Linked DNA regions of Homo sapiens: all the other regions are linked to region 2. Evidence: promoter capture Hi-C in 16 types of primary human blood cells and fetal thymus (Javierre and others, 2016). All regions are on one chromosome and are shown on one strand. Each heading gives the region's core, a stretch centred on a gene start or on the middle of the fragment in contact. The rest is flanking DNA. Distances are from core to core; before and after follow the strand shown. Region 1 holds the start of RNVU1-6 (RNA, variant U1 small nuclear 6). Region 2 holds the start of RNF115 (ring finger protein 115). Region 3 has its middle 6.6 kb from the start of TXNIP. Region 4 holds the start of LIX1L (limb and CNS expressed 1 like). Region 5 has its middle 12 kb from the start of TXNIP.

Region 1 (2,700 bases), core at 105-2,604, 230 kb before region 2:
CCCAGCTACTTGGGAGGATTAGTAAGGAGGTTTGCTTGAATTCGTGAGGTCAAGGCAGAAGTAAACCCTGATCATGCCACTGTACTCCAACCTGGGCGACAGTGAGACCTTGTCTCAGAAACAAACAAACAAACAAAAAACCCCACAAAACCAAACAACAACAAATTGTCACCTCATTCTGAAATGACAGTGGCAAACATCACTTTGCTATTTGAAAATTAAAAGAAGCCGGGCGCGGTGGCTCACGCCTGTAATCCCAGCACTTTGGGAGGCCGAGGTGGGCGGATCACAAGGTCAGGAGATCGAGACCATCCTGGCTAACAGAGTGAAACCCCATCTCTACTAAAAATACAAAAAATTAGCCGGACGTGGTGGCAGGTGCCTGTAATCCCAGCTACTGGGGAGGCTGAGGCAGGAGAATGGCGTGAACCCGGGAGGCGGAGCTTGCAGTGAGCCGAGATAGCCCCACTGCACTCCAGCCTGAGCGAAGAGCGCGAGACTCCGTCTCAAAACAAAAAAAAAGAAAATTAAAAGAAAAACACTCCCTCTTGCTATCAACCTGCCCTCTTGCTCTAACTTGTCTGACCCATGGTTTAAAATGCCCAAAAGCTGATGTACTCAAATTATAGTACACTTACCTGTTCTGCACCAGCATTTACTTTTGTCTGGAGGAGATCACCATGCATGGTCCTATACATGTCTAATGGCATGGAATGATGAAGGGTAGTGTCTTTTAGGATAGTTGGATACATATATATATATATATATATATATATATATATATATATGCGGAATGCTACATCACAAGAATAAGAATGTGAAAAGAACCAGTTTCTTTTGTAATCCTAAACGTTCTAGTCTGAGAATTAAAAGCCATTGTTCGAAGAAGGGTGCCCAGGGTCCAGCTGGTCGCCGAAAGCTTGCTCCGCAATACAGGCTAAGGACCAGCTTCTTTGGAAGAGAACAGATGAGGGAAGCAGGAGAGAAAAAAGGGAGAGGCAGACGTCACTTCCCCTTGCCGGCTCCGGCAGCGGGTTGGTCGGCTGAGCGGCAGAAAGGCAGACGGGGACTGGGAAAGGCGCTGTCGGTGACATCACGGATAGGGCGACTTCTATGTAGATGAGCCAGCGCAGGGGCTGCTGCTTCGCCACATGCTGCTTCGCCACGAAGGAGTTCCCGTGCCGTGGGAGCGGGTTCAGGACCGCTGGTCGGACCTGAGAGTCCCAGCTGTGTGTCAGGGCTAGGAGGGCTGGGGGGGAGGGGGGTGTGCGCGGGGCAAGTGACCGTGCGTGTAAAGGGTGAAGCGTGTGAGGCTGCCGGCGGGGCGGAGGTGCAATAACTCATACTTACCTGGCAGGAGAGATACCCTGGTCACGAAGGTGGTTTTTCCAGAGCGAGTCTTATCCATTGCACTCCGGATCTGCTGACCCCTGCAGTTTCCCCAAATGTGGGAAACTTGACTGTATAATTTGTGGCAGTGGTAGACTGCATTCGCGCTTTCCCCTGTATTTTTGTCGTTTTAAAAATAGGTTTTGTTTGCTGCAGAAACGCATACTGGGCGTCAGCGTAAGCTGAGAATCAGGTCTTTGTTCCCATCTGTAACTTCACTGAAACTAAAAATTTGGGACATCGTGGTTCTCACGTTTGTAATCCCAGCAATCTATGAGGTACGTCGATAGGTTATGTTTATGTTAATATCGCTCGACCTCAGGCGTGTGTGGGCAAATATAGTGAACCCGTCTCTACTAATCTCTTATCTTTTTTTGTTGTTGTTCTATAGAAATAAAACTAAGCTTTTCTTTTCCCTATGGGATTAACAGCAAACAGTCCGCTGGAGTGTATGGCGCGATCTCGCCTTACTGCAACCTTTGCCTCCTGCGTTCAAGCTATTCTCCTTCCTCAACCAGAGAATACTCAGCCTCCCGAGTAACTGGCATTACAGGCTCAGGCAACCAAAAAATTAGGTCCGGCTAATTTTTTGAATTTTTAGTAGAGACATGGTTTCACCGGGCCGGGCGCACTGGCTCGCGCCTGTAATCCCAGCACTTTGGGAGGCGGAAGCGGGTGGATCATGAGGTCAGGAGGTCAAGACCATCCTGGCTAACACAGTGAAACCCCATCTCTAATAAAAATACAAAAAAAAAAAATTAGCCGGGTGTGGTGGCACGTGCCTGTAGTCCCAGCTACTCAGGAGGCTGAGGCAAGAGAATCGCTTGAACCCGGGAGGCAGAGGTTGCAGTGAGCTGAGATCGCACCACTGCACTCCAGCCTGGGCGACAGAGTGAGACTCCGTCTCAAAAAAAAAAAAAAAAAAAAAGAGTGACAGGGTTTCACCATGTTGGCCACCCTGGTCTTGAACTCCTGACCTCAAGTTTTCCGCCTGCCTCGCGGCCTCCCAAAATGTTGGGATTACAGGCCTGAGCCACCGCACCTGGCCTGTTTACAGACTTTACAGACACATTTTGTTTACAAGCTTTACAGGTACAGTTCAATTGCGATTAGTGTATATTATGTTTGGCCCAAGACAAGTGTCTTTTTTTTTTTTCCAGTGTGGCCCAAGGAAGCCAAAATTTAGACAACCCTGCTCTAGAGGGTTTGATTCATGGTTCCACTGGGTTATGCTTATTGCCTATAATTCCATTTGATATTTTCCAAATTTGATTTTTTAAAAAGCGTTTTCCTGAAGCACCCTAAAGCTTT
Region 2 (2,759 bases), core at 145-2,644:
ACCCATACAATGGCATACTACACCAACATTTAAAGTTATTTAGTACGATGCGTATTCATGTAGAAAATTATTCATAATAGGCTGGCGCGGTGGCTCAGGCCTGTAATCCTAGCACTTTGGGAGACCGAGGTGGGCGTATCATGAGGTCAGGAGTTTGAGACCAGCCTGGCCAATATAGTGAAACCCCTTCTCTACTAAAAACACACAAAAAAATTAGCTGGGCGTGGTGGCGGGTGCCTGTAATCCCAGCTACTAGGGAGGCTGAGACAGGAGAATCGCTTGAAGCCGGGAGGCAGAGGTTGCAGTGAGCCGAGATCGCGCCACTGCACTCCAACCCGGGCGACAGTGCGAGATTCTGTCTCCAAAACAAAAAAAAACAAAAAAAATTACTCATAATATATTAAGTGACAGAAGCAAGCTGAAAAAATATAAAAATTCAATTATTGTAAAAAAAAAGGAAAAATGTATGCATAGGAAAAGACTATGCATCAAATTTATCTCTATGGGATTATGCGTGATTCTGATTTTCCTTAAAGATTGGGAGATGATTTTGCGGTCTGTCACAGACCTTAGTTTCTACACTTCACTGCTTGGAAGAATTAAGGTCACTGTTCACAGCTCGGTGGGAGTGAACAGGCAGTGTTATTCTCAGTCCATAAAGGAAATGATAATTTCGAAAAAGAAATTTAGGAGGTAAAGGACTGCTTCTCAACAGGGTGTGTCAAACAGGAGATGAGGTTACGTTGTTTGCAGGACAGTATTCAATTCTTAAACTTCTACTCCTTGACAAAGTTGACACAATCAGAAACGGACGTAGTTAATTTTATGATTACTTCCTTATTACAAATTGCTACCAAACATTGTTTACTTATTTCTTCCAATTCCTAAGAAGCCAAGTCTTTGCCTCCCCGTCCCCACCCCGCCTCAGTATCACCAGAGACCTATTTCGTCCATCCACATATCTTTGGAGAAGCATTCCCAGATCCTTTGCCATCCTCGGAAAGGGCTTCCAAGGCGCTTGGCTCCTAGCTCTACACTTCCTTTACACAGGTTCCCGTTTCGGACGTGGTCTCTTGGTCCAGTCAGTGCCGCCACGTTCAGACAGCATTTTCCACTAACCTCAGGGTCAGCGCAATCCGGGGGCTCCAACTCCAATTCGGCTGAGCTTCCCGCGACGGCTTCCTACGGCTCCCGCTGGCCTTCTAGGCCGAGGTGGAGCCCACCGCCCTTTCTAGGACGCGGATCGCCACCGAAGAAGACGCGGAAAAGCAAAAAGCGCGTGCCACTCTACCCCAGAGTTTCGGCGGCTTCCGGGGACGCTCTTTCTTTCTTCTCGCTGGAAGACTGGAGGACCAGCGAGGGGCTGTTTGTGGAGCCGGCGGGCGGGCCGTTTGTCTCTCCTTCCTGCGCCTCTTTGGTGCTGGGAGGCGGGCCGCAGGGTAGCTGTTGGCGCCGCCGCGTTTCTGGGCCTGGCCAACTCACGTGACCGACGCGGGCTCTGAAGCGGTGGGCCGCACCGAGGCGGCGGCGGCGGCGACGACTGCAGCTCGGGAGGTAGCGGCCTGGCGAGGGACGGGCCGGCTGCCCTCTCGGACGGCCGCGGCGGAGGGCAAAAATGGCGGAGGCTTCGGCGGCCGGGGCGGACTCGGGCGCCGCTGTAGCCGCCCACCGGTTTTTCTGCCACTTTTGCAAGGGCGAGGTCAGCCCCAAACTACCGGTAAGAGCGCTGTGTTCTCTATACTTGGGAACCTCATAGATTCCTGGCCCCGATTTCCCGGAACTGGGTCTGGAGCTTTCTGCACATCATTGACTCGCCCGACATCGGTCTGCCGAATACCTGCTGCCCACTTCTAAGCCGCCGGCCCTAAACCCTGGGCATCACGGCCTCGGCCCCGTACCTCCTGCCCACCTCTTAATTCATCCTGGGCTGCTCCACCTGACCTCACCTCTTTACCTCCCGTGTCCTTAATTTTTTTTTTTCTTAGCAAGTTTCCCTCTGATAACTCTCCCCTCAATTTTCTTGCATTCTTTTATACCTGGTCTTTTTCCTACGATGACCTCCCCCCACACTTCTTCCACTGTGTCTTCTCACCTTCCTCTGTGTTCTTTTCCACTTTTCACCCCCCACCGCCCCCGCCACCTCCCTTGTCAGTGAAGCGAAATAGCGGATTGCTGAGGATTGTCACTCTTCGGTTTTTTCTAGGGAAGGAAGCACAGAAAGGGGGTTGGAAGGTATCTGTGGGGCGAAAAGGGGGATTTTGCTCTTCAGTGGTTTCCAGGGTCCTTGTGACAGTGAAGACAGCAGCGTACTAATGACTTGCAGACGGTCTGCACTCCTATCACTGTTGAAGGAAATGGCTTTAGGAAGAAGGCAGGACGTACTGTTTCAACTTCGTTTATTTTGGTTGTCATGCTGCCAGTGTCTTTAATATCATTGTTCCGCCCCCCGCCCTGTCCCTTTCTTCACCTAAGAAAAAGAGCCGGGACAGAATGTTGGGGATGCTTCCTCTGACGTGAAATTGGTTTTCACGAGTTTCTGCCAGAGTGTTAGCCCCTTGAGAGGCAGTGCTGTGGTTGGGAAGAAAACACTTTTGTAGGTCAGGCGCGGTGGCTTAGGTCTGTAATCCCAGTGCTTTGGGAGGACGAGGCAGGAGGATTGCTTGAGGCCAGGAGTTTGAGACCAGCCTGGGCAACAGAGTGAGACCCCTCTCTACAAAAACAAACAACATTTATGCAGCATACTAGCCAGCACCAGCATC
Region 3 (2,700 bases), core at 69-2,568, 170 kb before region 2:
AGCGATTCTGCTACCTCAGACTCTTGAGTAGTTGGGATTACAGGCATGAGCCACCACACTCAGCTAATTTTTGTATTTTTAGTAGAGACGGGGTTTCACCATGTTGGCCAGGCTGGTCTCGAACTCCTGACTTCCCGTGATTCACCCGCCTCAGCCTCCTAAAGTGCTGGGATTACAGGTGTGAGCCATGGCGCCCAGCAGTGATTTTCATTCCTAAAGAACCGACAGGTGGAGAAACCCTGGGATGGCCAATTTAAATATTTGCACAGATCTGGTCCTGGTCCTTATTTGGGAATTGATTTTTCTGAGGACTTCCACAAACTAATTCCAAATAACAGGCTCCTGGAAATTCTACATGAAATCAGTGTGGGGTGTTGTAGCTCTAGCTACTCACAAGGCTGAGGCAAGAGGATCATTCAAGCCCAGAAGTTCTAGGTTACAGTGAGCTATGATTGCACCACTTGCACTCCAGCCTGGGGGACAGATTTTGTCTCAAAAATAAATAAATAATAAGCAAACTAAAATCAATGTGAATTTAACAGAAAGTGAGATTTAAAAGATCCTTTTCCATTTCAATCCTCATTTTTCGTTTATCTTTCATTTTCCATAGCACTCTCCTCCCTCTCTTTGTCTCTCTTTCATTACCAAAGTGTCAGTCTCTATTTCTCCCTATTGCCAGGGTGACTTTCACCTGAACTCTCCGCCCCTTTCTCACCTGTGCAAGAATTTAGTGGCTCCTCTCCTTCAAATCTGTGACCAGGAAATTAGGTCAAAGTTGATGGAAAAGTTTTTTCTGTAGCTTGTTTTCCAGGGCCTAGAGGGGTGAAGCAATGATAAGAGCAGGCCAGAGAGCAGGACAAAGGAATGGAGAGACCATGGAGTACATGAGCCTGGTTGTGTGCACAGTTGGGCTACCAGTACCCAATATGAGAAGAGGGATGGCTTCGAAAGGATAGATAACTTTATACCCAAGGCCTCTTAGAGATCTGATCCTAGGGCCAGGCGCGGTGGCTTACGCCTGTAATTGCAGCTACTCGGGAGGCTGAGGAAGGAGAATCACTTGAACCCAGGAGGTGGAGGTTGCAGTGAGCCCAGACTGCACCACTGCACTCCAGCCTGGGCGACAGAGCAAGACTGTCTCCAAAAAAAAAAAGAGATCTGATCCTGGAAGGGCCAGAACATGGGCATCTCCTCCGGATACCCTTAATATCCTTTATCCAGCTGTCCAAATAGAACTTTCTATGATGATGGAAATTTTCAATACAGTAGCCACTAGCCCTGAAATGTGGCTACTATGACTGATAAACTGATTTTTTTTCTTATCTTTTTTTTTTTTTTTTTAGATAGGGTCTCATTCTGTCTCCCAGGCTGGAGTGCAGTGGCACAATCTTGGCTCACTGCAGTTTTGACCTCCCAAGCTCAGGTGATTCTCCCACCTCAGCCTCCCAAGTAGCTAGAACTACAGGCACATGCCACCATGCCCAGCTAATTTTTTCTATTTTTTGTAGAGACAGGGTTTCACCATGTTGCCCAGGCTGGTCTTGAACTCCTAGGCTCAAGCAATCTGCCCACTTCAGCCTCCCAAAGTGCTGTGCACACATTTTTTTTTTTTTTTTAAACAGGGTCTTGCTCTGTCTCCCAGGCTGGAGTGCAGTGGCATGATCTCTGCTCACTGCAGCCTCCACCTCTCAGGGTCAAGTGATTTCCCATCTCAGCCCCCTAGTAGCTGGAACTACAGGTGCATGGCACCAAGCCCGACTAATTTTTGTATTTTTCATAGAGATGAAGTTTTGCCATGTTGCCCAGGCTGGTCTCAAAACTCCTGGGCTCAAGCGATCCTCCCACCTCAGCCTCCCAAAGTGCTAGGATTACAGGTGTGAGCCACTGTGCCCAGCCTGTAACTGAATTTTTAATTTTGTTTAATTATTTATTTATTATTATTATTATTTTTTGAGATGGAGTTTCTCTCTTGTTGCCCAGGCTGGAGTGCAATGGCGTGATCTCGGCTCACTGCAACCTCCACCTCCTGGGTTCAGCGATTCTCCTGCCTCAGCCTCCCAAGTAGCTGGGATTACAGGCATGCGTTACCACACCTGGCTAATTTTGTATTTTTAGTAGAGATGGGGTTTCTCCATGTTGGTCAGGCTGGTCTTGAACTCCCGACCTCAGGTGATCTGCCCATCTCAGCCTCCCAAAGTGCTGGGATTACTGTGCCCGGCCCAATTTTGTTCAATTCAATTAAACTTTAGCTTTCTGTGACTAGTGACTGTCACATATGTGACTAGTGACTAGTGACTAGTGACTGCCATATTGAATACCACATCAAAATCTAAGGGAGTAAGCAGCTAGAGCTGTTCCCCCAGAGGAAACCTATCCTTCTCTTACAGCACAAAAACTCCACTCTACTTCTTTTTGCCTTGTGTATACAACTTCTACCTCACCCGAGGACATTTTCCGCGTACAGGCTTGCTTCAGTACACTTCCTTGGGGAGTGGCTTAGCTATTTCCCCACTTAAGTGGGGGAATATTCTGGGTCTTCTTTGCCTATCCTCTTCTCACGTGCCTTTTAATTTTTAAGTAGCTATGACCTACATGTACAATGATTAGAGGAGATGTGGTTCTGAGTATCATTTATTCAGTAGGTTTAATCTGGTATAGGGAGATCTGAGAGAACTAAAAAAGAAAACTACCTAAAGAGAG
Region 4 (2,724 bases), core at 183-2,682, 130 kb before region 2:
CAGAAGTCTCTGTTTTGTCACTTCTGCCTGGAGGTGTGGGTATGGGGAATGAGGAATGGGGAGGGAGGGTAACACTAACTTATAGCTATAATTATCCAAGGGATACTTAGCTGTTCCAGCCACCTTCTTTCCAAGAAACCAACTTTTCTATAGAGAAAAGGCAAGTGTCCTGTGTCCTGAAGATTTTAAGGCATTTGACAGGATTTCATTTCCTCCAGTTTCCTCTATGTCCAACCTTGAATTCTTTAAGGTTCCTACAAAGAGTTCCTCCCTCCATCATCAGCAGATATATCCCAGTAGATTAACTGTCTCCTTTTGAAACTTCCTATTTCTTGACTACTCACAGTTTTTATTCAGGGTCTAATTTTCATTTCACCAAGTGTGTTTCTTCTATTTTCTTCTACTTCTGGCCTCTATTTCCCCATCTTTGATTTCTGAGCCACTGTAGGAGAGATGGGGGGAAGCAGTTAATATAATCTCACCTAAGCAAAAATGGCCTGGTGACCACATGATAAAGGGTATGTAGAGTGTGTGTGTGTGCATGTGTGCAAGTGTGTGTGTGTGTGCAAAGTAATCAGAGGAACCCAGTCTGACATATTATACCAACAAGGGTAATTTTCTTAATTCCCCCAACTGGACTTCTCAGTTTGCTAATTTTCTGCATGTATCCTAACTCTTTCTCACTCTAATGGGAGGCAAAGAGACTTGCCCATCCCACTCTCTCTTATTCCCTTCCTCTACTTAGAATAAGTGAACTCAGAAATTTACCCAACAATGTGGCATAGTAAAAAGATAAAAATATTGGGAATCAGAACACCTATGCTTAAACTCTGAATTCCACTTTGCCATCTCTTAGCTATTTAATTTTGGCCATTTTTCTAGCTTCCCTCAGCATCTGTTTCCTTATCCCTAAAATAACAAAATCTAGTTAGTGATTGTGATTGTAAATAAGACATGCACTACAGTACATTGCATAGTTTATGTTCATTAAATGTCAGTATCTTTCTTGCCTTAGCTCCACCACCAATTGCATATGATGTTGGACAAGTCGAATTACTTCTCTGAGCCACAATATCCTCACCTGCAATCTGTGAAATGAAATGGTAGGACAAAATGATCTCTACTCTGTCTGCAATCCTCCCCAATCTTGCATCTAGGCCCATTTTTTTCTTCAAGCCCAGCCCCAAGATTCTGTCCTGCTTTCTAGTGCTTGCCACAGGACTCCCAAAGACGCGCCGAAGCTCTGCGTCTGCCTTTCAGAGGATACGCTTTTTCTCTTTGCAATTGGTTCTGAGAATCCCCACCCTCCTCAATAATTTGCCTATGGCGGAGCAGGAGCCCTCCAGCTCCCGCCCCATCACTGGTGATTGGCATGGGACCTAGCTCGTCCCCGCCCCCACTTGACTGAAGGTTCGGCCCTGGCACCGCCCTGAGTCCCCAGGCGCTAGCTGACTGGGGTGGTTGGGACCGTTAGCTCGGCAGGCTGGCAGGCTCCGGGGCGCTACTCCATTGGCGGCCGGGATGGAGACTATGCGAGCGCAGCGGCTGCAGCCTGGTGTGGGCACCAGCGGGAGGGGCACTCTCCGAGCGCTGCGGCCCGGAGTGACTGGGGCCGCGGCCGCCACCGCCACACCCCCTGCGGGCCCCCCGCCTGCCCCGCCGCCTCCCGCACCGCCCCCGCCGCCGCTGCTCCTGTCTGGGGCCCCAGGACTACCCCTGCCCCCCGGCGCCGCCGGCAGCCCGGCAGTGCTGCGAGAGGCCGTGGAGGCCGTGGTGAGGAGCTTCGCCAAGCACACGCAGGGCTATGGCCGAGGTGAGTCTGCGGGTCTGGCCTCCTGCGCGACACCCTCTGTAAGGGAGCCTTGCTCCCACAGTCCTCCGGATCGCTTTTCCTGGCGTGGAGCCCTCACATGCATTTCCTTTTGGGGAGTTTCCTTCTGGGCTACGCACACGCACAGACGCACACACTCATACACACGTTTAAGCCTCCTACCTCCTCCCCTTTACTGAGTTATTAATATATTCTCCAGGGACTCTTTTTCAGATACAATCCTCTTTTCTTCCTAAGCTTTTCTCCTTTAGAAATGGAATTCCTCCTCCAGCTTAATACCTTAACATCTCTCTGCCTTTGAGAACCAGTCCTCATTGTGTGGGATCCTGTCTTTTATTTCAGATCCAATTTCTCATCCATACCCTCTCAGTCTTTCCTCTGTGATCTCTGCAATTCCTGGACTCACCTGTTAATTTGCTCCAGCCCCTTAACCTTGACTGTTAAATTCTTTACTTACTTACCTTCACTCTGAAATTTCAGTGCAACTTCAGATTTACTGGGGAACTAGGTAGTGCCTTCACAAGTCACTCATAGTAATTGTGTATTTAAATCCGGACCTGTACCACTGAACTCACAGCAGCTTCCTGTGGCTCAGTACCTTACTTTGGTATCTTTTTTAGTATGGAGACTCACAACTCCAGCCTTTCTGTCTGGCTGTGTTTTCCTGGCCCTTGCCCAGGAACTGAGGATAAATCCCAGGCCTTGGCTCTTTCAATGTTAAATTCTGTGGAAATGTGCCAGGTTAGAAACTCTATTTCAGTTAGAAAACTTCGTTAATTTCTGGAAAGAGGGATGTGAGGGTTTTCTTTGTTGTTTTCGTTTAACTAGGGTAGTTTCCTGTCTGAGTTTGAGTTCCAGATTTATAGTGTAAGTAATAAGGAATATATAGTGAA
Region 5 (2,700 bases), core at 37-2,536, 180 kb before region 2:
GCCCGGGAGTTTGATACCAGCCTGGGCAACATGGTGAGACCCCCGTCTCTACAAAAAAAATAAAAATTAGCTGGCTGTTGTGGCATGTGCCTATAGTTCCAGCTACCTGGGAGGCCGAGGTGGGAGGATCAGTTGAGCCCAGGAGGTTGGGGCTGCAGTGAGCTATGATCGCACTACTGCACTCCAACCTGGGTGACAGAGCAAGACCCTGTCTCAATAAAAGAATTAAAAATAAATTAAAGGCCAGGCGCAGTGGCCCATACGTGTAATCCCAGCACTTTGGGAGGCTGAGGTGGGCGAATTGCTTCAGCTCAAGAGTTCAAGACCAGCCTGGGCAATATGGCAAAACCCCTTCTCTACGAAAAATACAAAAAATTAGCCGGGAGTGGTGGTGTGTGCCTGTGGTCCCAGCTACTCGGGAGGCTAAGTTGGAAGGATTGCTTGAGCCCAGGAGGTCAGGAGGTCGAGGCTGCAGTGAGCTGAGATTGCACCACTGCACTCCAGCCTGGGTAACAGAGTGAAATACTGTCTCAAAAAATAAATAGGTAAAAATTTAAAAATTAATTAATTAAAAATGAAAAATAAATGTAGAAATCAGAGAAAGCTTTACAAAGGAGATGACTTTTTTTTTTTTTTTTTTTTTGAGACAGAGTCTTGCTCTATCACCCAGGCTGGAGTGCAGTAGCACAATCTTGGCTCACTGCAACCTCTGCCTTCCGGGTTCAAGTGATTCTCCTGCCTCAGCCTCCCGAGTAGCTGGGATTACAGGCACCCACAATCATGCCCGGCTAATTTTTGTATTTTCAGTTGAGACGAGGTTTCACCATGTTGGCCAGGTTGGTCTTGAACTCCTGACCTCAGGTGATCTGCCCGCCTCAGCCTCCCAAAGTGCTGGAATTACAGGTGTGAGCCACCACACTTGGACAATCTTGGACTTAAAAAAAATCTTTTTTTTAAGGCTCAGGGACTCACTAGGAATTTTGTCCTAGCTGTGTGATCATAGGCAAGTCATTTGAGTTCTCTGAATCACAATATTCTCTTCTGCAAAATGTCTTCCTGCTTACCTGGTGAGAATCAAATGTTTGTGCAACTGCGTTATAATGCATATATATAGATATATAGATGACAAAATATAATTAACAAAGAAAGTACTGGCCGGGCATGGTGGCTCACACCTGTAATCCCAGCACTTTGGGAGGCCAAGGTGGGCAGATCACCCGAGGTCAGGAGTTCAAGACCAGCCTGACCAACATGGAGAAACCCTGTCTCTACTAAAAATACAAAATAAGCCAGGCGTGGCGGCGCATGCCTGTAATCCCAGCTACTTGGGAGGCTGAGGCAGGAGAATCGCTTGAACCTGGGAGGTGGAGGTTGCGGTGAGCCGAGATCGCCCCATTGCACTCCAGCCTGGACGACAAGAGCAAAACTCCATCTCAAAAAAAAGAAAGTACTGATCTGGCACAGTGGCTCATGCCTGTCATCCCAACACTTTGGAAGGTCGAGGTAGGAGGATCACTAGAGCCCAAGAGTTAGAGACCAGACTGGGCAACATAGCAAGACCCCCATATCTACAAAAAACTTAAAATTAACTAGGCATGGTGGTAGTCCCAGTTCCTCAGGAGGCTGAGGCCGAGGGTTGCTTGAGCCCAAGAGTCAGAGACTGCAGTGAACTGATCGCACGACAGCACTCCAGCCTGGGCAAGAGAGAGGCCCATCTCTTAAAAAAATTAATTCATTTTTTCAAAAGGCATTGATGGATCTAGAAAAATAAATAAATGTTTTAAAATTTTTTCTTAGAAAAGAAAGTATTATTAATTGTCAGTCTGGATAAAAAAATAGAAACTTGTTTTAATGTAGAATTTCTTTCCCTCAGTCATGAACACCACATTTCCTTCATTTGTTCCTTCTCATAATCAAAAATCATCTTTGCCACTCAGGGGAGTGATCTGGGCTGTTTTGGCTCTCAGAAAAGCTTTTATTTGTTTGAGACAATTCTTGGACTAAGAATTTTGACAGTATATTAAACTGCCCACTAGGTGGCAGAGCTGAGTCAACTGTATTTCTGAATTGTGTAAGAAATAATTTCTCAGAAAAGGGGAAGTTGGGTTGAGCACACAATGTCCCATCTCCCTCATACTTATAAACACCAACGCAGTCCAATTTTCTTCTCACAGAAAAACAAACCACCACCTCTCGCCTCCTTACCGTCCCTGCTCTGATACATATTTGGGCCACAGGCTTTGAGGAGGGACAAATATGATACAGTTTAGCATAAGAAACTGAGGTTGAGGTGTCAAGTCTAATAGTAATAAGAAATAATACTAGGATCTGAATTACTGGTATATTCTATCCAGAGACATAACCCAATCTATCAATTCAATCAATCTATCTCTATATGTATGTGTGTGTCTGTGTGTGTGTGTGTGTGTGTGTGTGTGTATATATATATATATATATATATTTTTTTTTTTTTTTTTTTTTTGACATGGCAATTCAAGCCATCCTCCCACCTCAGCCTTCCGAGGAGCTGGGACTACAGGCGTGCACCATCACACACAGCTAATTTTTTTTATTTTTAGTAGAGACAGGGTTTCCCCATGTTGCCCAGGCTGGTCTCGAAGTTGTGAGCTCAAGTGATCCGCCTGCCTCAGCCTCCCAAAATGCTGGGATTACAGGCGTGAGCCACTGCACCTGGCCTCA

Evidence for each region. The method cuts DNA at HindIII sites, captures the fragments that hold promoters and counts their contacts. A CHiCAGO score of 5 or more calls a contact.
Region 1: a contact is called between a fragment that was not itself captured here and the fragment with the promoter of RNF115 in region 2, in 2 of 17 cell types (activated CD4 T cells and naive CD4 T cells). The highest score is 6.8, in activated CD4 T cells.
Region 3: a contact is called between a fragment that was not itself captured here and the fragment with the promoter of RNF115 in region 2, in 1 of 17 cell types (erythroblasts). The highest score is 6.2, in erythroblasts.
Region 4: the fragment with the promoter of LIX1L here is called in contact with the fragment with the promoter of RNF115 in region 2 in 11 of 17 cell types (fetal thymus, erythroblasts, total CD4 T cells and 8 more); the score reaches 9.0 in fetal thymus.
Region 5: a fragment that was not itself captured here is called in contact with the fragment with the promoter of RNF115 in region 2 in 9 of 17 cell types (erythroblasts, activated CD4 T cells, naive CD8 T cells and 6 more); the score reaches 9.3 in erythroblasts.

The regions. Positions count from the first base shown.
Region 1 is chr1:146,050,887-146,053,586 of GRCh38, reverse strand. RNVU1-6 (RNA, variant U1 small nuclear 6) reads left to right here and starts at 1,343; the gene lies at 1,343-1,506. LINC01719 (long intergenic non-protein coding RNA 1719) reads right to left here and starts at 991. Exons shown (of 3, transcript NR_125968.1): 1 at 639-991. RefSeq lists enhancers at 673-1,404, 1,405-2,133 and a silencer at 1,254-1,493. The HindIII fragment of the contact is 874 bases long and covers 918-1,791 here.
Region 2 is chr1:145,822,730-145,825,488 of GRCh38, reverse strand. It overlaps RNF115 (ring finger protein 115), which reads left to right and starts at 1,394. Exons shown (of 9, transcript NM_014455.4): 1 at 1,394-1,717. The coding sequence starts at 1,616. POLR3C (RNA polymerase III subunit C) reads right to left here and starts at 1,289. Exons shown (of 15, transcript NM_006468.8): 1 at 1,120-1,289. RefSeq lists an enhancer at 1,029-1,428. The HindIII fragment of the contact is 15,759 bases long and covers 1-2,759 here.
Region 3 is chr1:145,988,647-145,991,346 of GRCh38, reverse strand. No RefSeq gene overlaps it. Among named protein-coding and RNA genes, the nearest start is that of TXNIP, 6.6 kb to the left of the region's middle. The HindIII fragment of the contact is 6,969 bases long and covers 1-2,700 here.
Region 4 is chr1:145,956,725-145,959,448 of GRCh38, reverse strand. It overlaps LIX1L (limb and CNS expressed 1 like), which reads left to right and starts at 1,432. Exons shown (of 6, transcript NM_153713.3): 1 at 1,432-1,813. The coding sequence starts at 1,522. It overlaps ANKRD34A (ankyrin repeat domain 34A), which reads left to right. Exons shown (of 4, transcript NM_001039888.4): 4 at 1-8. RefSeq lists silencers at 1,378-1,467, 1,498-1,777. The HindIII fragment of the contact is 5,249 bases long and covers 1-2,066 here.
Region 5 is chr1:146,006,783-146,009,482 of GRCh38, reverse strand. No RefSeq gene overlaps it. Among named protein-coding and RNA genes, the nearest start is that of TXNIP, 12 kb to the right of the region's middle. The HindIII fragment of the contact is 1,368 bases long and covers 603-1,970 here.